7 separate regions of the Homo sapiens genome follow, and regions 1, 3, 4, 5, 6 and 7 are each linked to region 2. The links are contacts of gene promoters, found by promoter capture Hi-C in blood cells and fetal thymus (Javierre and others, 2016). All regions are on one chromosome and are shown on one strand. The core of a region is centred on a gene start or on the middle of the fragment in contact, and the rest is flanking DNA. Distances in the headings are between cores, read along the strand shown.

What was found. The method cuts DNA at HindIII sites, captures the fragments that hold promoters and counts their contacts. A CHiCAGO score of 5 or more calls a contact.
Region 1: a fragment that was not itself captured here is called in contact with the fragment with the promoter of AKR1A1 in region 2 in 1 of 17 cell types (activated CD4 T cells); the score reaches 5.9 in activated CD4 T cells.
Region 3: the fragment with the promoter of PLK3 here is called in contact with the fragment with the promoter of AKR1A1 in region 2 in 12 of 17 cell types (M0 macrophages, activated CD4 T cells, fetal thymus and 9 more); the score reaches 14.1 in M0 macrophages.
Region 4: a contact is called between a fragment that was not itself captured here and the fragment with the promoter of AKR1A1 in region 2, in 10 of 17 cell types (total B cells, naive CD4 T cells, total CD8 T cells and 7 more). The highest score is 12.0, in total B cells.
Region 5: a contact is called between a fragment that was not itself captured here and the fragment with the promoter of AKR1A1 in region 2, in 2 of 17 cell types (activated CD4 T cells and total B cells). The highest score is 6.1, in activated CD4 T cells.
Region 6: a contact is called between the fragment with the promoter of RPS8 here and the fragment with the promoter of AKR1A1 in region 2, in 3 of 17 cell types (total CD8 T cells, activated CD4 T cells and naive CD4 T cells). The highest score is 7.1, in total CD8 T cells.
Region 7: a fragment that was not itself captured here is called in contact with the fragment with the promoter of AKR1A1 in region 2 in 5 of 17 cell types (erythroblasts, naive B cells, fetal thymus and 2 more); the score reaches 7.1 in erythroblasts.

The regions. Positions count from the first base shown.
Region 1 is chr1:44,668,505-44,671,204 of GRCh38, forward strand. The region is part of intron 1 of TMEM53 (transmembrane protein 53); the gene reads right to left. It overlaps SNORD145 (small nucleolar RNA, C/D box 145), which reads right to left and starts at 2,552; the gene lies at 2,453-2,552. The HindIII fragment of the contact is 1,523 bases long and covers 491-2,013 here.
Region 2 is chr1:45,549,497-45,552,196 of GRCh38, forward strand. AKR1A1 (aldo-keto reductase family 1 member A1) reads left to right here and starts at 1,330. Exons shown (of 9, transcript NM_153326.3): 1 at 1,330-1,659. RefSeq lists enhancers at 1,013-1,072, 1,123-1,352, 1,583-1,802. The HindIII fragment of the contact is 4,529 bases long and covers 1-1,906 here.
Region 3 is chr1:44,799,035-44,801,734 of GRCh38, forward strand. It overlaps PLK3 (polo like kinase 3), which reads left to right and starts at 1,343. Exons shown (of 15, transcript NM_004073.4): 1 at 1,343-1,639; 2 at 1,806-1,913; 3 at 2,002-2,118; 4 at 2,588-2,700. The coding sequence starts at 1,430. RefSeq lists enhancers at 347-1,015, 700-759, 810-1,199, 1,970-2,019 and a silencer at 1,300-1,579. The HindIII fragment of the contact is 10,835 bases long and covers 1-2,700 here.
Region 4 is chr1:44,722,887-44,725,586 of GRCh38, forward strand. ARMH1 (armadillo like helical domain containing 1) reads left to right here. Exons shown (of 12, transcript NM_001145636.2): 7 at 1,236-1,358; 8 at 1,434-1,506; 9 at 1,653-1,782; 10 at 1,876-1,953; 11 at 2,250-2,331; 12 at 2,405-2,700. The coding sequence ends at 2,517. It overlaps LOC105378690 (a long non-coding RNA gene), which reads right to left and starts at 1,233. Exons shown (of 5, transcript XR_007066059.1): 1 at 1,149-1,233. RefSeq lists a silencer at 551-845. The HindIII fragment of the contact is 4,387 bases long and covers 1-2,700 here.
Region 5 is chr1:44,693,101-44,695,800 of GRCh38, forward strand. All of the region lies in intron 2 of ARMH1 (armadillo like helical domain containing 1), which reads left to right. All of the region lies in intron 4 of LOC105378690 (a long non-coding RNA gene), which reads right to left. Among named protein-coding and RNA genes, the nearest start is that of ARMH1, 20 kb to the left of the region's middle. The HindIII fragment of the contact is 5,253 bases long and covers 1-2,700 here.
Region 6 is chr1:44,774,256-44,776,955 of GRCh38, forward strand. RPS8 (ribosomal protein S8) reads left to right here and starts at 1,285. Exons shown (of 6, transcript NM_001012.2): 1 at 1,285-1,345; 2 at 1,779-1,885; 3 at 2,420-2,519. The coding sequence starts at 1,342. SNORD55 (small nucleolar RNA, C/D box 55) reads left to right here and starts at 1,610; the gene lies at 1,610-1,683. It overlaps SNORD46 (small nucleolar RNA, C/D box 46), which reads left to right and starts at 2,237; the gene lies at 2,237-2,334. RefSeq lists a silencer at 1,329-1,538 and an enhancer at 1,619-1,908. The HindIII fragment of the contact is 3,101 bases long and covers 1-1,751 here.
Region 7 is chr1:44,746,903-44,749,602 of GRCh38, forward strand. KIF2C (kinesin family member 2C) reads left to right here. Exons shown (of 21, transcript NM_006845.4): 3 at 482-583; 4 at 750-798. Among named protein-coding and RNA genes, the nearest start is that of KIF2C, 8.4 kb to the left of the region's middle. The HindIII fragment of the contact is 179 bases long and covers 1,332-1,510 here.

The sequences.
Region 1 (2,700 bases), core at 2-2,501, 880 kb before region 2:
ACTTTCTAGTGTCTCACAGTTCCTATATTTAAATCAAATTTTTCTTTTCTTCTTTGAGACAAGGTCTTTCTGTGTTGCCCAGGCTGGAGGGCAGTGGTGTAGTCATGGCTCACTGCAGCCTCGAACTCTTGGGCTCAGGTAATCCTCCTACCTCAGCCTCCCAAGTAGCTGGGACTATAGGCAAGCACCACCATGCTCAGCTAATTTTTGTATTATTTTGCAGAGGTAGGGTTTGGCCATGTTGCCCAGGCTGGTCTCAAATTCTTGGGCTCAAGCAATCCACCCCCCTCGGCCTCCCAAAGTGTTGGGATTACAGGCGTGAGCCACTGTACCCGGCCAAATTACTTTATTTTTTATTTACTTTTTAAAAGAAGAGCAGAGCAGAGTAGCATAGTATCTAAGAGTACATACTGTACAAAATCATATCTCGGTTCAAATCTCTGCCTCTGCCACTTAATAACTATGACACAGACCTTAATCAAGTTCTCTAAGCTTCAATTTCCTTATCTGTGAAATGGGGACAATGATACAAAGAATTAAATATGATAATAGCTATAGAGGGCTTATCATGGTGCCTGGCAGAAGGAAAGAGTTCAATAAATTGAAATTATTATTACTTCACAAGTAATGCATACTCACTGTAGAAAAAGTAGAAAATGAATATCTAATAAAATTGGAATCATATTGTTTGTAATCTGCTTTCTTCCGTTTGGCAATATATTGTGAACATTTTTCCCTGTCAGTTTATATATTTCTACACCATTATTTTTAGTGGCTTCAGAGAGGCTATAGAATGTTTCATAATTTATGGTGACCAAATCTCCCATTATTGGATATGATGCTGTTTCCAATTTTTTGCTGTTATAAAAATACTTTAATGGACACCCCTTTCTTTGTGCATGTCCCTAATTGTTTCCTAGAAATGGCATCGTATTCAGGCAGCCCCTCCTAATGGCAACTGAAATCTCGGCATGCACAAGCTCTGGAGTAAGGCTCTTAAGCTGAAATCTGGAATTACTTTGGGCAAGACACTTTACCTCCCCACGAGCATCTGTTCTTCATCTGTAAAACAGGATTAAGGGTTCTCCCTACTTCACAAGGTGGTTGTGAGGATTAATAAAATAATGAAAGGAGCTCCTGGTGGGCCTGGCATGTGGATAGAACATGGTTAACAGTGTTAAGTACCACAGACATTCAGAGAAAAGGAGGCCTGCAAAGAGGCCTGGATCTCAAATCCAGGGTCTAGTACAGCACCAGCACCTGGCATAGAGCAGACACTTAGAAAGCATCCTATTTTTTTTTTTTTTTTTTGAGACGGAGTTTCGCTCTCGTTACCTAGGCTGGAGTGCAATGGCACAATCTCGGCTCACTGCAACCTCCGCCTCCCAGGTTCAAGCGATTCTCCTGCCTCAGCCTCCTGAGTAGCTGAGATTATAGGCATGCGCCACCACACCCGGCTAATTTTGTATTTTTAGTAGAGATGGGGTTTCTCCATATTGGTCAGGCTAGTCTCGAACTCCTGACCTCAGGTGATCCGCCAACCTCGGCCTCCCAAAGTGCTGGGGTTACAGGTGTGACCCACCACGCCCAGCCAGAAAGGGCTCTTATCTAGAGGTGAAAGAAAAGAGATCATGATTCCAAAAATAAATACAACTCCTCTGTATTAAAAAAAAAAAAAAAGACCTTTGGGGTCCTCGTAGACAAGACAAGGATCAAATCCCAAACGACTCTCTTCACCTGGGTCTTTGAGGTCTGTCCATCATGACAGATCTTCAGGTTTTCATCTAATTCTCCACCCACAAAAGCACAGCGCGGCCTCCTGCCAGGCCCCTGTTCCCTCCAGCCACTCACTGTCCCCCTTCAGGGATTTACTTCTGCACTTTCTCCCATCCAAGTTCCAAGCAGGCCTGACACTGCTTAGCTTCTGAGATCTGCATGTTCAAGGTGGTATGGCCATGGACTTGACTTCCACACTTTCTGCTGCTCACCATGGGGGTCTGTCAGCCCTCCTGAAGCTTCAGGTCCAGCTTGGGCTGCTCTACTCTAGGAAGCCTCTCCCACCACAGGGCCCACCATGGTGGTCCAGACCCTTCAGCACTGTCTCCTGGGTGTCCGAGACAACTTCCTGAGGGTTAAAATGATGTCTATATTTCTTTGACCTCAGCCAGTGATGAGCAAAAAAGGCATGCGGTAAAACCTGGGGAGCAAAAACCCCCTCACTTCCCCTCTCTGTGATCCCCTTAAGACCTTCTGTTTACTTTAAGAGCAAAATGTTTGTCCCATGACCAGGCCCCAGACTCATTAATTCTATGAATGAATTTTTCTTTATGTTTACTGAACATGAGAGCCACACGGTGCCTTTAAGAAGGTTGCTGGCCTATGAGCAAGTCACAGAGGGGATCTAGGTGGGACTTGGCTGACCATTCTCTGGATGGGAGGAGGGGTGGCACGGCCTGGGCCTGGGATGTCAGAGCAGCTCTGGCTTGGGCCTACAGTGCTGCCAAGTGATTCCATTCAGCTCACTTGGTACATCATCCCTCCCAGGCCCTGGTGACAGTGAGTGAAGCCATCAAAAACACGACAACAGGAAAATATAGTGCTTATGGGAGCCCCAGGAGAGACCCTTCCCAAATGAAATGAAGTAAGAGAGGGTATTGAGAGACTGAGGGGATCACTGGCCTGGGAAAAAGAGAGGGAGGA
Region 2 (2,700 bases), core at 80-2,579:
TTTTATGAGGATGGCCTGATACATTAGACATTTGGTCCACCAGGACATCACTTATGTTGGGGAGACAGTGGGGGATAACGGGGGTGGGGAAATGGGAAGAGTTGCTCTCAGGGAGTAAAGGTGTGGGGAAAAGCAGAGCCAAACCGAGATAACCCTGTGTCTTGCCCATCCCTGCCAAGGAAAACACATACATGCAAGACACCTCTCCACTCAAACAGCACAGACTATTTCAAATCGCAGATGTGTCATTTAATTAATACCTGTGTGACTTTGGGAAAATTATAAATAGCCTTAACCTTGCTGAGTCTGTCCAATCTGTAAAATGGATTATGAATACTTTCCTCACAGGCTTATGGTGTGCTGGTAATATCTTCCTCTGGATGGCAGTTACATTGCAAAAAATAATTTAAAAAAAAGAACTGTATACATTTAAGATTTATACATTTTCTTTCTTCCTGGATGTAGAATAGGAAAAAAAGAAAAAGAAAAAAAAAAAGACTGGTGTATTTTCTGTATATATGCTATACTACGATTTTTAAAAAGGCTTGTACGAAATAAAAGAATATTCCTTTTCGGCCAGGCGCAGTGGCTCACTCCTGTAATCCCAGCACTTTGGGAGTCCAGGGCGGGTGGATCACGAGGTCAGGAGTTCAAGACCAGCCTGGCCAAGATGGCGAAACCCCGTCTCTACTAAAAAATACAAAAAAATTAGCCAGGCGTGGTATCGGGCGCCTGTAATCCCAGCTACTCGGGAGGCTGAGGCAGAGAATTGCTTGAACCAGGGAGGCGGAGGTTGCAGTGAGCCAAGATCGCGCCACTGCACTCCAGCCTGGGCGAGAGCGAGATTCCGTCTCAAAAAAAAAAAAAAAAAAGGAATATTCCTTTTCCAGGATTATTATGAAGATTCAATAAAACCATGTTTATTAAGTGTTAAGCACAGTGCCTGGCACATAACGTGCTGGGCGGGGTCTATGGTCCAGACAGGGGGACCAGGCACTTTCCAGCGCCTGGATCTGCAGACGCGAGGTCTTCTGTATTCTGGCCAATCTTGGTGTTGCAGCTGCTCTCTGGGCCTCAGTTTGCTTGAACTAAATGTAACGGGGCCAACTTAGGTGAACTTTGGGAATCCAGCCAACCTGACTTTAGGGAGAGTATGGAGCCACGGATGGCATTGTGAATCCGGAGGGCCGACACCAGAAGAACCTGCAACGTGGCATCTGCTACCTTACTTCCCCCGGAAAAGCGCCTGCGGCGGCGCCTAGGCGCGCGGTGCAATGTGGGCCAGCAAAAGGCGAGGCTGGCCCCGCCCCTTGCACCGCCCACGTGGCCAGCGCCACCTGCCTCATTGTGCCCAGGAGTTCTCCAAACCCGCGCTGCGGAGTGAGTGACCAAGTTCCGGCCAGTTCGACCTCGAGGATCCAGAGGTGGAGACGGTACTACCTCCCAGCTCTGTTTTCCATCCCCTTCAGGTCCTTCCTCGGGAGGCGGCGAAGGCGGTCCACCCTGCGCGTGATCCTTTATGCCCGGCCCCTGCCCCTCCCTCCGGGTGGAACTTCCCCCTCACCGCCAGACTTAAGCTGAGGATCGTTGGATCTCTGGCGGGGTGCAGAACTGAGCCCAGGCCACAGTACCCTATTCACGCTCTGTGCTTGTGCCAAGGTGAGTTTCTCTTGCTGCTGGCCTATCTTTCTCCCGGAGGAGATGGCCTCGATTCTTTACTACTGAAATGTAAGCCCCTGGGGTTGAGTGGAGAGCGCAGAGCACTGGAGGGGACGAGACTTGGTTTCGGATTTGAGCTCTTCTTTTTCTCTGTATGATCTCTTGCTAACTTCCCAGTTTCTCTGAACCTGTTTCCTCAGCAATAAAATGAGGTCCTACATTAGAACTGTAGCAAGAATTGAGATAAAGCTTTGAAGGCGCACAGCGCATACTAGGTGATCTGCAAGTTTTAATTGCCATCTTTTTGTTTGCTCACCTATGTGCTTTTTCCAGCTGCTCCGGCTTTCTTATGCAGGTGCAGGGATAGTTCTCAGAAGTGGGGAGAAGTGGGGATAATTCTCTTACTTAGACACCTGCTTTGGGTCTGAGAAAGTCTGACATGTTATTCTGTTGCCCCAGAACTCTGTTAAAGTAAGACACAGATCTGAACCTTCACTGGATGAGGCTACTGTTAATTAACTCTTCCCCTTCAGATCGTTCATACTCAGGGCTGCAGGCCTGTTACTTTTCCAAGATCTGTTTCCTTATCTTTAATACAGGAGCAATCTCAGTATGATTCTATCTGGTCCACTGGGATTTTTTGCCGAGTATAGTAAAGTGCTTTGATATTCTCCAAGAGGATTCTTTTCAGGTTTTCCAACAGGTAAAGGAAGAAGGTGACAGAGGCAGCGACTTCCTCAAATGTCCTTCCAGCTGGCCAAACTCAACCTGTCAAGATCTCTCCCCCATAAGCTGTGTGTGTGTGGTGTGTGTATTGTGTACATTGTATGTATGTATGTATGTATGTATGTATGTATGTATGTATGGGACAGGTACTCTAGGAGTGAGGGGTTCAGGCAGATGACAGGCTCAGACCTCAAGGAGTAGCCAGGTTTGTGGGGGAAATTTATATATAAACAGAAAAATGTAGTGATGTGCACATGCTATCAGTACATGGAAGTAGCCATCCATTTATTTATTTATTTATTTTCTTTTTAGAGA
Region 3 (2,700 bases), core at 93-2,592, 750 kb before region 2:
CACTTAGCAGATGCTCTCAATAAATCTTTGAGGAATGGCATGGTAATTGATTGGCTGGCACAGAGGGAGGGCAGAGAGGTGAGAGACAAGGCCAGGAGGCCTGTGGTCCTGGGCCTCTGTCTCTGGCCCTGGGAAGGGTGGGCATTGCGCAGGGGTCTAGGGGTCCACGTGGTCCAGAGACTAGCTGCCCAAGTGCCCGTGTCTAGCATTTGAGAAAATGCAATTCCCAGCCAGGCAAGGTGGCTCACGCCTGTAATCCCAGCACTTTGGGACGCCGAAGCGGGTAGATCACCTGAGGTTGGGAGTTCCAGACCAGTCTGACCAACATGGAGAAACCCCGTCTCTACTTAAAAAAAAAAAAATACAAAATTAGCCGGGTGTGATGGCGCATGCCTGTAATCCCAGCTGCTCGGGAGGCTGAGGCAGGAGAATCGCTTGAACCTGGGAGGCAGAGTTTGCGATGAGCCAAGATCGCGCCATTGCACTCCAGCCTAGGCAACAAGAGCGAAACTCTGTCTCAAAAAAAAAAAAAAGAAAGAAAGAAAGAAAAAAGAAAATCCAATTCCCATTCACTTTCTGGCCTCTGGCTGCTGACCCAGGCCCGGGGGTATTTTCAGAGGAAGGGAATTGCGGACCCCGGAGGAACCCGAAATTTGCCCCTCAAGAGTGTAGAAGTGGGTAGCGGAAGATGTGGCCTGGAGCATGGTAAAAGCCTTGAAATTCCAGACTCTGCTTGACTCCTAAACCTGGCAAGGCAGCCCTCGGGCCAGGCAAGCCAGGCGCGAGACTGTGCCTTCCTTCCAGGCCCTAAAGAGGGCAGCACTGGGCCGGGCCCCGGGCGAGGGCGAGGGACACACGCGGTCCGGCACACTGAAAGGGGAGTGTCGGGTAACATGCCCGGGCAAAAGCGAGCGCCGCCCCTGCCTCTCCGCTGCTGGCTGGAACGCTGATCTATCTAGTTGCTGGGGAGACGCCCCCAGATGCCCGGGCCCCACTCGGACTTCAGCACACATCCCGAAGGATGGGGAAAGAAAGAGGCCCCCACGAGCGGGACTCGCAGTGGCCAAGGAGGGGTGAGAGGCGGACAGGGATCAGCTGGCCCCTGCGGCCTGGTTGCACCTGCATGGTGACTAGCTGCCGGGCTGCGCCCCGGGGCGCGGCGAGGAGGCGGGGTCTGGCAGTGCGTTGGGTGGGGGAGGAGCTTCTGGGTGATGTAAGGCCGGGAATGGGAGTGGCCTCTCCTCGACTCGCTGCTAGGAAGGGGGCGGGACTCTCGGTGACCAGACGCCGGGGAGGGGGCAGGCGTTCATTGATAAAACGCTGGGCTCCCCTGGGCGCCAGCGCAGCGTAGCAAATCCAGGCAGCGCCACGCGCGGCCGGGGCCGGGCGGAACCGAGAAGCCGGGACCGCGCTGCGACGCGCCGGCCGCATGGAGCCTGCCGCCGGTTTCCTGTCTCCGCGCCCCTTCCAGCGTGCGGCCGCCGCGCCCGCTCCCCCGGCCGGGCCCGGGCCGCCTCCGAGTGCCTTGCGCGGACCTGAGCTGGAGATGCTGGCCGGGCTACCGACGTCAGACCCCGGGCGCCTCATCACGGACCCGCGCAGCGGCCGCACCTACCTCAAAGGCCGCTTGTTGGGCAAGGTGGGCCGAGGGACGTCCGCGGGGTGGTGATGGTGGAGGTGGGGGTCCCGGCCGGCCTCTTTTCTGGCGCCGAGCAGGGCGTGGGCACTTGACCCCCAACGCGGGGACGCCCGCGGGCCAGACTCGGCCCCCCTGGAACAACCAGCCTGATGCCCCCTCTTCACAGGGGGGCTTCGCCCGCTGCTACGAGGCCACTGACACAGAGACTGGCAGCGCCTACGCTGTCAAAGTCATCCCGCAGAGCCGCGTCGCCAAGCCGCATCAGCGCGAGAAGGTGGGTCCAGGCTCAGCGGGCGAGGGGTGGGGTGGGGACGGTGGCATGGGAACCATGGAAGGATGACGACTCCGCGCCCTCATCGCAGATCCTAAATGAGATTGAGCTGCACCGAGACCTGCAGCACCGCCACATCGTGCGTTTTTCGCACCACTTTGAGGACGCTGACAACATCTACATTTTCTTGGAGCTCTGCAGCCGAAAGGTGAAAGATGGTGATTCCCGCAGGGATGAGAGTGAGGGAGAGAAGACAGTCTTTTTTTTTTTTTTTTTTTTTTTTGAGATGGAGTCTTGCTCTGTTGCCCAGGCTGGAGTGCAGTGGCGCGATCTCGGCTCACTGCAATCTCTGCCTCCCGGGTTCAAGCAATTCTCCTGCCTCAGCCTCCTGAGTAGCTGGGATTACAGGCATGCACCACCACGCCCGGCTAATTTTTGTATTTTTAGTAGAGACAGGGTTTCACCCTGTTGGTCAGGCTGGTCTCAAACTCCTGACCTTGTGATACACCTGCCTTGGCCTCCCAAAGTGCTGGGATTACAGGCGTGAGCCACTACACCCAGCCGAGAAGACAGTCTTAAGACCCAAAGCTGGGGCCCTGTTTCTTCCTCAGGGAGCACAGATGGAGGGGGAGGGGGAGGGAGGGCTCACCAGGGGCTGAGGCAGTGGCTCTCTGCAGTCCCTGGCCCACATCTGGAAGGCCCGGCACACCCTGTTGGAGCCAGAAGTGCGCTACTACCTGCGGCAGATCCTTTCTGGCCTCAAGTACTTGCACCAGCGCGGCATCTTGCA
Region 4 (2,700 bases), core at 40-2,539, 830 kb before region 2:
ATCTCTACTAAAAATACAAAAAAAAAAAAAAAAAAAAATTAGCCGGGTGTGGTGGCGGGCGCCTGTAATCCCAGCCTACTCGGGAGGCTGAGGCAGGAGAATTGCTTGAACCCAGGAGGCGGAGGTTGCAGTGAGCCGAGATCGCGCCACTGCACTCCAGCCTGGGCGACAGAGTGAGGCTCTGTCTCAAAAAAAAAAAAAAGGTAGCATTTATGCTGGTGTGCCATCATCTTAGCATCTCCTTCTCCTCCTGCCCCCTCTAGCTCTGTGGTTCCTTTCTCTTCTTTACAAAAACATTCAATCCTTGCCGATTTTCTCTTGTGCTCCCACAGCCCAATCACTGACTCCTTCCACAGCACCTGTCACCATATCATCGCTGCCTGTTTGTGCACGCTTAAGGAGGGTTGGTCGAATGAATGAATTCAGTCTGTATCCTCAACACCCAATGCCGCGCCTGGCACCATAGGCGTTCACATGCAGCCGTGCCGAAAGACTGAGTGAATGCTGGACTGAATGAATGACTGCCTGTAAAATATCTACAGGAAAGCCCTGCAGGAAATGCCCTCCATAAATTCTAGTCCCCTTCTCCTTCCTAACCAAATCCTCCCCTCCTTCTGCTTCCATCACTTCCTAGCTGTGTAACTTAGGCAAAGTGGTTTACCTCTCTGTGTCTAATTTCGGCAAAGGTAAAATGGGGAAGTGAACCTCATCTGGTTCTGGTGAGCTTCCACGGGTGCTGTATGGAAAGCCTGGCACCCTGCCTGGTGGAGAGGGCTCGATGATGGTTAGAAGGAGAGTTTCTCTAAACTGCCGCCTACCTTCCTTCCCCTTTCTCATTTCCTGCCACAAGTCTCCCACCCACTTTCTCTGTCTCCCTCTCACCCCTTGTCTTTCTCCATCTTGTCTTCCCGTAAAGACCCAGCCCTTCCCTCCTCCATGAAACCTGGATTCCTCCAAGGCGAAGGCCCCCCTCTCTGGGGTCTCAGCCTCCAGCGCTGACATCCTAGGCCGCCTCGACAGGTGGGCTCACCATCCAACCCTTCCTCCTCCCCCTTCAGCCCCCTCCTCCTGCTCTTCAACTGAGGTTCGCCTTCCCAGCTCCCCCACGCCCTGCACAGTGCTGATCAGTAAAAGAGGAGGACACTGACGAGTGGCGACTTGGTTCACGGGGTTCTTTGCTTCCTCGGTGGCGGAGGGGCCTGGGGCCTCTCTCCAGCACCTCTGCCCTTCCGCAGCCATCGAGTTGATCAAAGACCTGGTCGGTTACGATGTGCGCCAGGCGCTGCTCAAGGGCCTCGTGGCGCTGCTGATACCGTCGGTCAAGGAGATCTCCAAACTGCAGGCCAAGATCCTCAGTGGTAAGGACCTGCTCAAATGGGGCTGCCTGGGCCACGGGAGGGCGGTCTCTTGCCTCACGGCTGCCCCCTCCTCAGACCCCTCGGTTCTCCAGCTCACCCCCAGCCTGCCGATGTTTTTGCAGCAGGCCGCGGCCGCCAAGGCCATCGGGTAAGCGGGCAGGGGTTAGTGGGTAGCTGCAGCAAGCCTGGCTTGGCGCTGCCGGCGGGCCCCGGGAGCGCTCCGTGCGCCGGGTGGGCGGGGGTGTGCGCCGGGTGAGCCCCAGGGCGTCGCCCCAGCCCGAACCCCCGGCCCAGGGTCCTGGCGCGCAACGACATGAGCATCGCCGAGGAGCTGCTGTACCTGCGCGTGGTGCGTGGCCTAATGGCCGCCATGGGCAACACGGACCACAGCAACAGCCAGCGGCTGGCCAGCCTCACGCTGGAGGTGCGCGCGGCGGCTGGTTAGGGGGCGGGAAGGGCGGCGGCACCCGCAGCCCCGTCGCCCCCGCAGTCACGCCGCCTCGCCCGCGCGGCGCAGTGCTTCGTGCAGATGTTCCCCTTGGTGGCGGAGCACGTGCGCAAGTGCATGGGGGAGGAACTCTACCAGCTCTTCCTGGTAAGTGCGCCCTTCCTGCCCCGCCGCAATGAGCAGATGGCGGCTCGGACAGTGTGATGCCCCTTCAGACAGTCCCCATCCTGGAGCGCGCCACATGCAGAGTGGACCTGGCCACCAGCTGCAGGAGGGACTGCTCTGGCGTAGGCTCCTCCACCCGCCACCTTCCTGTTCCCTTTCCTGCCCTTTCGGTCAGGCTGCCGACCCGCCCCCCACCTGCAACATCCCTCTGCCAAGCCCAACTCCAAGTCCAGACTGCCCTGGCACCCCAGCCGGGTCCCCCTTGCTCCTGTCCTCAGAGCAACGCTGAGGACTTGTACATGAAAATAGACAGCATTCAGGCGGACATCTTGGCGGCCAACACAGTCAATGTTACCAAAGGTGAGTGTGGGACGAGGGAAGCCGGGCGCAGGCGCCGCCAGCACAGCCTCACGCCCGCCTTTCCTGCCTGCAGCCCTGTGCCTCCATGGCAGCTCCTACAGCATGAACACTCTCTATGGCTCGCGCGATTCGGCTCAGATGGCCTACCTCACACACTTCGAGGAGGATGTAGAATCAAAGGAGTAACAGCCCCTGTGGCAAACCAGGAAGGCCAAGGCTGCGGGGCAGGGAAGCCTGGCAAGAGGAAGGCGCCTGGGGTCAAGCTCAGAGCCACTCCACTTGGCTCCAGGGGGGAGACGGGGATTAGGCATCCCAGAGGGGCAGAGGAAGAGCCGCTGGCTGCGAAGAGTCAATAAACAGCCTTGATAC
Region 5 (2,700 bases), core at 151-2,650, 860 kb before region 2:
TCCACCCACACTCCCAAGGTTCTGCTTTAGTAGATTGAGGGTGGAACCCTGGACCCTTATTTCTAACAAGTACTCTGTGTGGCTGTAGTGCCAGTGGTCCCCGGGTTATGCTTTGAGAAACATTGCTGCCTATAACCTGGCTCCTGTCCCCACAACTCATGACACTAGCCTCACCAAGTCCCTAGCTTTGTGGCCAAATCTAGAGTTCCTTTTTCCTTCCTTGTCTTACTGAACAATATTTTCCACTTGGCCACAGGGTGAGATGAGTAAGCCAGGGTGGTACAGGTGCAGGGTCAGATCCTGTCTATTTAACACTGTGATGTCTTATTCATCTCATCATGGATTTGTTGTTGTTGTTGTCTGAGACAGAGTCTCACTCTCACTCTGTCACCCAGGCTGGAGCACAGTGGTGCCATCACAGCTCTGCAGCCTCAACCTCCCGGGCTTAAGCCATCCTCCCACCTCAACCTCCCAAGTGGCTGGGACTATAGGCATGCACCACCACATCCCCAACTAATTTTATTATGTTTTTGTAGAGACAGGATCTTGCTGTTGCTGTTTCCCAGGCTCATCTCAAACTCCTGGGCTCAAGCAACCCTCCCACCTTGACCTCTCAAAGTGCTGGGATTATAAGTGTGAGCTACCATGTCTGGCCCATCATGGACTTTTTATATTAATTTGATTGTTTTAAATAGTGCATTGAAATATTATGTGATTACTGAGTTTTTTGGTGCCCCTTTTAATTTCAGACCCCAAGCAAGTGCCTCCCTCACCTCACCCTAGTCCTGGCCTTGCTTGACCACTGCCCCCTCTTAAGCTGTCCTCTCTTCTACCTTTTCCCGCTGTTTCTCAGTTGCTATTGCAGGATCTCTCCCACTCCAATCCCCCACTTAAATGTCAGTGTGTCTGAGCATTCTGTGCTTTTTTACTTGGTCATTGCACTTATTACATTAGGCATTACATCATTCTTCTTCATTTCTCAAGTGCCAATCATAGTGCCTAAAATTTAGTGGGTACTCAGTCAGTGCTTACTAAATGAATGAACCATGCTTTTACTGAACAGTTGTAGATTCAGTGTTCTACACCTAGAATTATTCATAATTCCCTAACTTTTTGCAGCCTTGTCGTACAACAGATAAAATAGACTGCGTGATGTGATAACAGTGTTTTGAATTAGCAAACCCACTTCTCCTACTCAGCCCTCCAGTTATGGTGGATTTTGGAGGAAAACAAGTCAATATAATAGCATCACAGCATCATTATTTTTTGCAAAATTGACTACCACATAGTCCCAATAAGCCTAAACCCTTTTTTCAACCTTGAACTTTCAGAATAGATCAGTAAAACTAAGGATTTATGTATTAAATGATAAAATTAGTTACCATTTATTGAGTCTTTTTCTTTTTTTCTTTTTTTTTTTTTTTTTTGAGACAGAGTCTCACTCTATTGCCCAGGCTGGAGTGCAGTGGTGCAATCTCGGCTCACTGCAACCTCCGCCTCCCAGGTTCAAGCGATTCTCCTGCCTCAGCCTCCCGAGTAGCTGGGATTACAGGCATGCACCACCGTGCCCAGCTAATTTTTATATTTTTAGTAGAGACGGGGTTTCACCATGTTGTCCAGGCTGGTCTTGAACTCCTGACCTCAAGTGATTCACCCTCCTCAGTGCTGGGATCCCAAAGTGCTGGGATTACAGGTGTGAGCCACTGGGCCCAGCCTATTGAGTCTTTTTATGTTCTAGGCACTGAGATATATACTGTACAAATATTATGTCATTTGGGCCTAACACCCAGCCTAATAGGTGATTGGTATTATTCCATTTTATAGATAAGAAAGATGAGCCTTGAAAAGGTTGAGTAATTTACTAGCACATGGTAGAGATAAAGTTAGAACCGGGTGTCTGTCCGAAAGCCTATACACCATCATGTCTCCTACTCAGTGGACCGTGCAGACCACAGCTCCACCTGCGACACCACACTGGGAGTTCATCTGCAAAGCGCCCTCCCTCCATTTGTCTACAAGCCAGAAGGCCTAACAGTAAGAGTTAGAATCCTAGTCAGACTGCCTAGGTTCAAATCCCGGTTCCAGCAGTTCACTGTGGGACCTTGGACAAGTTATTGACCTGAGATTGTTACCTCATGTTACTCAGGAAGTAAATGGAAATGCTAATAGCACCCACTGGAGGGCCATGGTGAGGATTATTTGAGACAATGCAAGCAAAGCAGTTAGCACAGTGCCCCGCACACAATAGGAGCTGGTACTTGTTAGCAACTGCTGATCTTGTGGCCCCAACATTGCTCCTTCATCCCCTGTTCTCTAGATCCAGGACTCAAACCATGTGTTCTGGAACTAATTCCTGGAAATAATAGACCAGAAATATGTATAGTGAGTGACTATGAAAACAAGACTAGCTGGGTGTGGTGGCTCACGCCAGTATCTCAATACTTAAAGGGAGGCAGAGGCAGGAGGATCGCTTGAGCCTAGAAGTTCAAAACCAGCCTGGGCAACATAGCAAAACTCCATTCTCCACAAAAAGGAAGAAAAAAACAAACAAAAAATAAAGCTGGCATGGTGGCTCACCTCTGTAATCCCAACACTTTGGAAGGCTGAAGCAGGAGGACTGCTTGAATTTACAAGTCCGAAACTAGTCTGGGCAACATAGCGAGACCCCTGTCTCTACAAAAAATACAGAAAAAAAATAGC
Region 6 (2,700 bases), core at 35-2,534, 780 kb before region 2:
ATGGTGGGGATGGCTAATGGGTACAAAAATAAAATATCATCATAAATAAGACCTACTATTTGATAGCAAAACAGGGTGACTATAATCAATAATAACTTGTGTATTTTATTTTTTTGAGACAGAGTTTTACTCCATCACCCAGGCTGGAGTGAGTGCATTGGTGCCATCTCGGCTCACTGGAACCTCCACCTCCCGGTTCAAGTGATTCTCCTTCTTCAGCCTCCAGACGGAGTTGCTGGAATTACAGGCGCCCGCCACCACGCCCGGCTAATTTTGTTTTGTTTGTTTGTTTTGTTTTGAGACGGAGTTTCGCTCTGTCGCCAGACTGGAGTGCAGTGGTGCGATCTCGGCTCACTGCAACCTCCAGCTCCCTGGTTCAAGCGATTCTCCTGCCTCAGCCTCCCTGAGTAGCTGGGATTACAGGTGTGCGTCACCATGCTCAACTAAATTTTGTATTTTTTTAGTAGACACGCGGTTTCACCATGTTGGCCAGGCTGGTCTCGAACTCCTGACCTCGTGATCCGCCCGCCTCCGCCTCCCAAAAGTGCTGAGATTACAGGCGTGAGCCACCGCGCCAGGCCTAAAAATTTTTTTTAATTAAAAAATAGATATCCTTCTAGCTCAGAAAAGTTAGCTGATCCCTCCTTTATACTCTCTTCCTAAGTTCCGTTCATTCTGGTGGCTTTAATTACCATTTATAAGCCAACGATTCCCAAAATAACATCTTCGGTGCAGATCCCTTATAAGGATGACCAGTCATTAATATTCAGCTTCCTATCTGTTAGTCCCACTCAACATGACTTAGCAAGATCTCAAAATGAACGTGTCCAGAACAGCTCCTACCTTAGCCTACCCCATCTCAGTAAATGGCCCCAATATTTATCCGATTGATCAAGTGACAATCTTAGGAATCCTTGACACCGCCCTCTCCCTCAATCCCCATGTCCAATCTACCACCAAACCCTTCAAAACAAAACCCAAGTCCACACTCGTTTCCAATTCCATTGCCTTCCACTCTTTTTCAACGCAGCCGCACCCACATCTCATCCTAAACGACCGCAGCAGCCTCTGAAACTAGTCTAAACACGCCCAGATCTGCCGACGCCGCAGACCCCCTTCCCCCAGCCCAGGGTCGGAGGCGAGTCGCCGGGGGTCGGCAGAGGTCAGCAGCCTGCGAGACCCTCCTAGGCTCGTGGCCCTAGGCGCGGCAGCTGACACGTAAGTCTCGTCGCCCGACGTTGTTTCGGCGCTCAGAAACAACGTAAAGTAAAGGGGCGGGGCAGCGTTTTACAAACCGAACCGTGAATCTTTGCGGTTTCTCTTTCCAGCCAGCGCCGAGCGATGGGTGAGTGTCGCTCTGCATTGAGGCGGGTGAAGGGAGGTTGAGCTCAATCAGGCCCCATCCTGCTTCACAGCCTACTGAGGAGTCCAGACGCCCCGACCCCCGGCCAGGGACAGCCACGAGGAGTGGTGGCCCTCGGGTTTCGGCCGCCCAGCCCGTCTCTGGGGGCTGCGAAGGCTCTGGGCTCCGGGTTCCGGGCCGCGGGCTGCGGGCTCCGAGCGGCGCCAACATGGCTGCCGCGAGGAGGAGGCCCCGGCCTGGCCGCACGTGTATGATGACAACTCGGTAATGCTGCATACTCCCGAGTGCGCGGTGGGGAAGCCAACCTTGGAGAGCTGAGCGTGCGACCGGCCCGGCGCGGGGGTCTCCGGGAGCTGGCGAGTCGCTAGCACCGAGTCACAGTGGCTCAAGCTTCCTTCCCCGCTTCCACATGCAGGCATCTCTCGGGACAACTGGCACAAGCGCCGCAAAACCGGGGGCAAGAGAAAGCCCTACCACAAGAAGCGGAAGTATGAGTTGGGGCGCCCAGCTGCCAACACCAAGGTGGGTGCGAGCGTGGGCCTGTCCGCCTGGGAGGTCGCCTTCCCCCGCTCTCCAGCGTGCTCGGGTCTTTCCGTGTGACAGTTGTGCGTTCTTTCTTGGGCTCTGATTTCTCTGTAGTAGGGCCTGGGTGTCCTGTCCCCCTTTAGCTGTTGGATAAGTAAGTACCAAAGAGGGAATGCTCCCTCAGGCCCCCAAACCTGGAGCTTAGGATTTCAGAGAGAAGGATACTGTGTGGGGACTTGAGCTTCTGGAGAGGGTGGCGCCTCGCGTCATAGTCAGAAGCCTAGTCTTGTTTTTTTTACAGAGGCTTAATTTTCAGCATTTGGGGTCAGGCTTTCCTCTTGGAGGCAAGTAGGGTGATGAAAAAGAATCCTTAGGCGTGGTTGTGGCCGTCTTGGTCACCTGTGTGCCACTTGCCAATGCAAGGACTTGTCATAGTTACACTGACTGTTGCCTCCTCCCGGCCCAGGTTCCTCTCCCTCACTTGCCTTGCTCTCCTTGGTAACCTAGTTCCTGTAACCTTGTGTTTTCCAGATTGGCCCCCGCCGCATCCACACAGTCCGTGTGCGGGGAGGTAACAAGAAATACCGTGCCCTGAGGTTGGACGTGGGGAATTTCTCCTGGGGCTCAGAGTGTGAGTGAGGCCCTTTGGGAGTGGGTGGGAAAACGCACCTAAACGGTCTTAAGATTCACCAAGTGGGCCTGGCGCGGTGGCTCACGCCTATAAGCCCAGCACGTTGGGAGGCCGAGGCGGGCGGATCACCTGAGGTCAGGAGTTCGAGTCCAGCCTGGGCAACAGAGCGAGACTCTCAGTA
Region 7 (2,700 bases), core at 171-2,670, 800 kb before region 2:
TTTTTTGTTTTTTGAGACAGAGTCTTGCTCTGTTGCCCAGGCTGGAGGGCAGTGGCTCAATCTCAGCTCAATGCAACCTCCGCCTCCTGGATTCCAGCAATTCTCCCGCCTCAGCCTCGGGGGGGCCAGGCACAGTGGCTCACACCTGTAATCCCAGCACTTTAGGAGGCCGAGGTGGGGAGATCACCTGAGGCCAGGAGTTTGAGACCATCCTGGCCAACATGGTGAAACCCTGTCTCTACTGGAAATACAAAAATTAGCTGGGCGTGGTGGCGCATGCCTGTAGTCCCAGCTACTCAGGAGGCTGAGGCAGGAGAATTGCTTGGACCCAGGAGGCAGAGGTTGCATTGAACCAAGATCGCACCACTGCCCTCCAGCCTGGGCGACAGAGCGATACTCTGTCTCAAAAAAAAAAAAAAAGAAAAAATGTATTTGGATTGAACAATGTTGTTTCATTGAAACTTTTACTTGCTCCTTGCAGATTGATTTTGATGATGTGGCTGCAATAAACCCAGAACTCTTACAGCTTCTTCCCTTACATCCGAAGGACAATCTGCCCTTGCAGGAAAATGTAACAATCCAGGTAGGTGCCTGTCATCTGGCTGCAGCCAGTGCGCCAGAGAATTCACTTTGCTTATTGACTCTTTGCTGATTGATTGTCTGGCATTTTAGCATAGTACATGGGCCCAGGATGGGCCCTTGAGAATTGATAAGAGCCATATATTGTGACAATTTGATTTGTTTTTCAGAAACAAAAACGGAGATCCGTCAACTCCAAAATTCCTGCTCCAAAAGAAAGTAAGTGGATTTCTACTAGCTTACTATCATGGAATTTGTGTCAGGAATTATGTTTCTAGGACTCAGAGTTGTGGAAGCTCCTCTTTTGCAGGTGGTTTCTATGTGGGTTGAGTCCTGCCTGTGTTCCAAGCATCTTTCTCTATGAGAAAGAATCCAATCTACAGCTATCAGGCCAACCTTTAAGAGACCTGGTGCATTTAGGAAATTTGCTGCCTGGCCTAGAAACCTTTTCTGTAGAATCCAGAGCCTGATGCTGAGGAGAGTAGGAATCAGCCATTGGTAGGCCTTTTTTCTTCCCTCGGGGCTCAGCCCCCTCAGTGGAACAGTATGCCTTGGAAAGAGATTTTGAAAATGGGAGACACTAGGCCTGTGGGTTGTTTAGAAGTACAGTTGGTGGCGCTATAGAGAGGGATGGCTGGGGCTGGAGAGAATAACAGCATTGCCTCGTGGTCTAGGAGGTTGGGAGTCTCTCTGCAGAAGTAGTCTGTGAAAACCTACTTTGACAACATGATAGACTGTGACTCTAGGGGGTAAGCTTCCCAAAAGATCCAGCTTAAAGCCAGTTGTACCTTGAAGGCTGGTGACCTGCACAGCTCTCCAGGTCTAGGGGTCATCATTGCCCTGAAATGATTCAGCTACCTCAGGGACTCACAGAATACTTGGCTGGAGCTTCAGGTTCTGGGGGCCCTGAGTGGAAGGTGGTGCCATTGCAAGCTTGGGCCTGACTATTGTGGTGCTGGCCCTTTCTTGCTGGGTGTACCGTAAGGTCATGCAGGAGAGTTGGGACTCGCAGCAGTCCCATTCCGTGTTCATGTCCTCAAAGGATATTGCCCCAGCTTTGTTTTGTTTTGTTTTTCAAAGGCAGGGTCTCACTTGGTTGTCCATGCTGGAATACCATGATATGATCGTAGCTCACTGTAGCCTTGAACTCTTGGGCTCAGGCAATCCTCCCACCTCAGCCTCCCATGTAGCTGGGACTACAGGTGTGCCCCATCACACCTGGCTAATTTTTTTTTTTTTTTTTTTTGTAGAGACAAGGTCTCACTATGTTGCCTGGGCTGGTCTCAAACTCCTGGCCTCAAGTGATCCTCCTGCTTCAGCCTCCTAAAGTGCTAGGATTGCAGGCGCGAGCCACCATGCCCAGCCAATAGCTTTTTTTCTTTAGGATGGAGTCTCGCTTTGTTGCCTAAGCTGGTCTTGAACTCCTAGCTTCAAGCAGTCCTCCTGCCTCAGCCTCCCAAAGTGCTGGGACTACAGGCACACACCACCATGCCCAGCTACACAGCTCATTTTAATGGAAAAAAAAATCTTTAAGGCCCTGAGCAGTAGCTCATGCCTGTAATCCCAGCACTTTGAGGGGCCAAGGTGGGCAGATCACCTGAGGTCAGGAGTTCCAAGCCAGCCTGGTCAACATGGTGAAACCCTGTCTCTATTCAAAATACAAAAAACTGGCCGGGTGTGGTGGCTCACACCTGTAATCCCAGCATTTTAGGAGGCCAAGGCGGGTGGATCACCTGAGGTCAGGAGTTCAAGACTAGCCTGGCCAACATGGTGAAACCCCTGTCTCTACTAAAAATACAAAAATTAGCCAGGCGTGGTGGTGGGTGCCTGTAATCCCAGCTACTCAGGAAGCTGAGGCAGGAGAATCGTTTGAGCCCGGGGGGGCAGAGGTTGCAGTGAGCCGAGATCATGCCACTGTACTCCAGCCTGGGTGACAGAGTGAGACTCGGTCTCAAAAAAACAAAGAAAAAAAATTACAGATCATTTGGGGCTAGATGTGATGGCTCACACCTGTAAGCCCAGTGCTTTGGGATGTTGAGGCAGGAAGATGGCTTGAACCTAGGAGTTTGAGACCAGCCTGGGCAATATAGCAAGACTCAGTCTTATTATAAAAATAAAAAA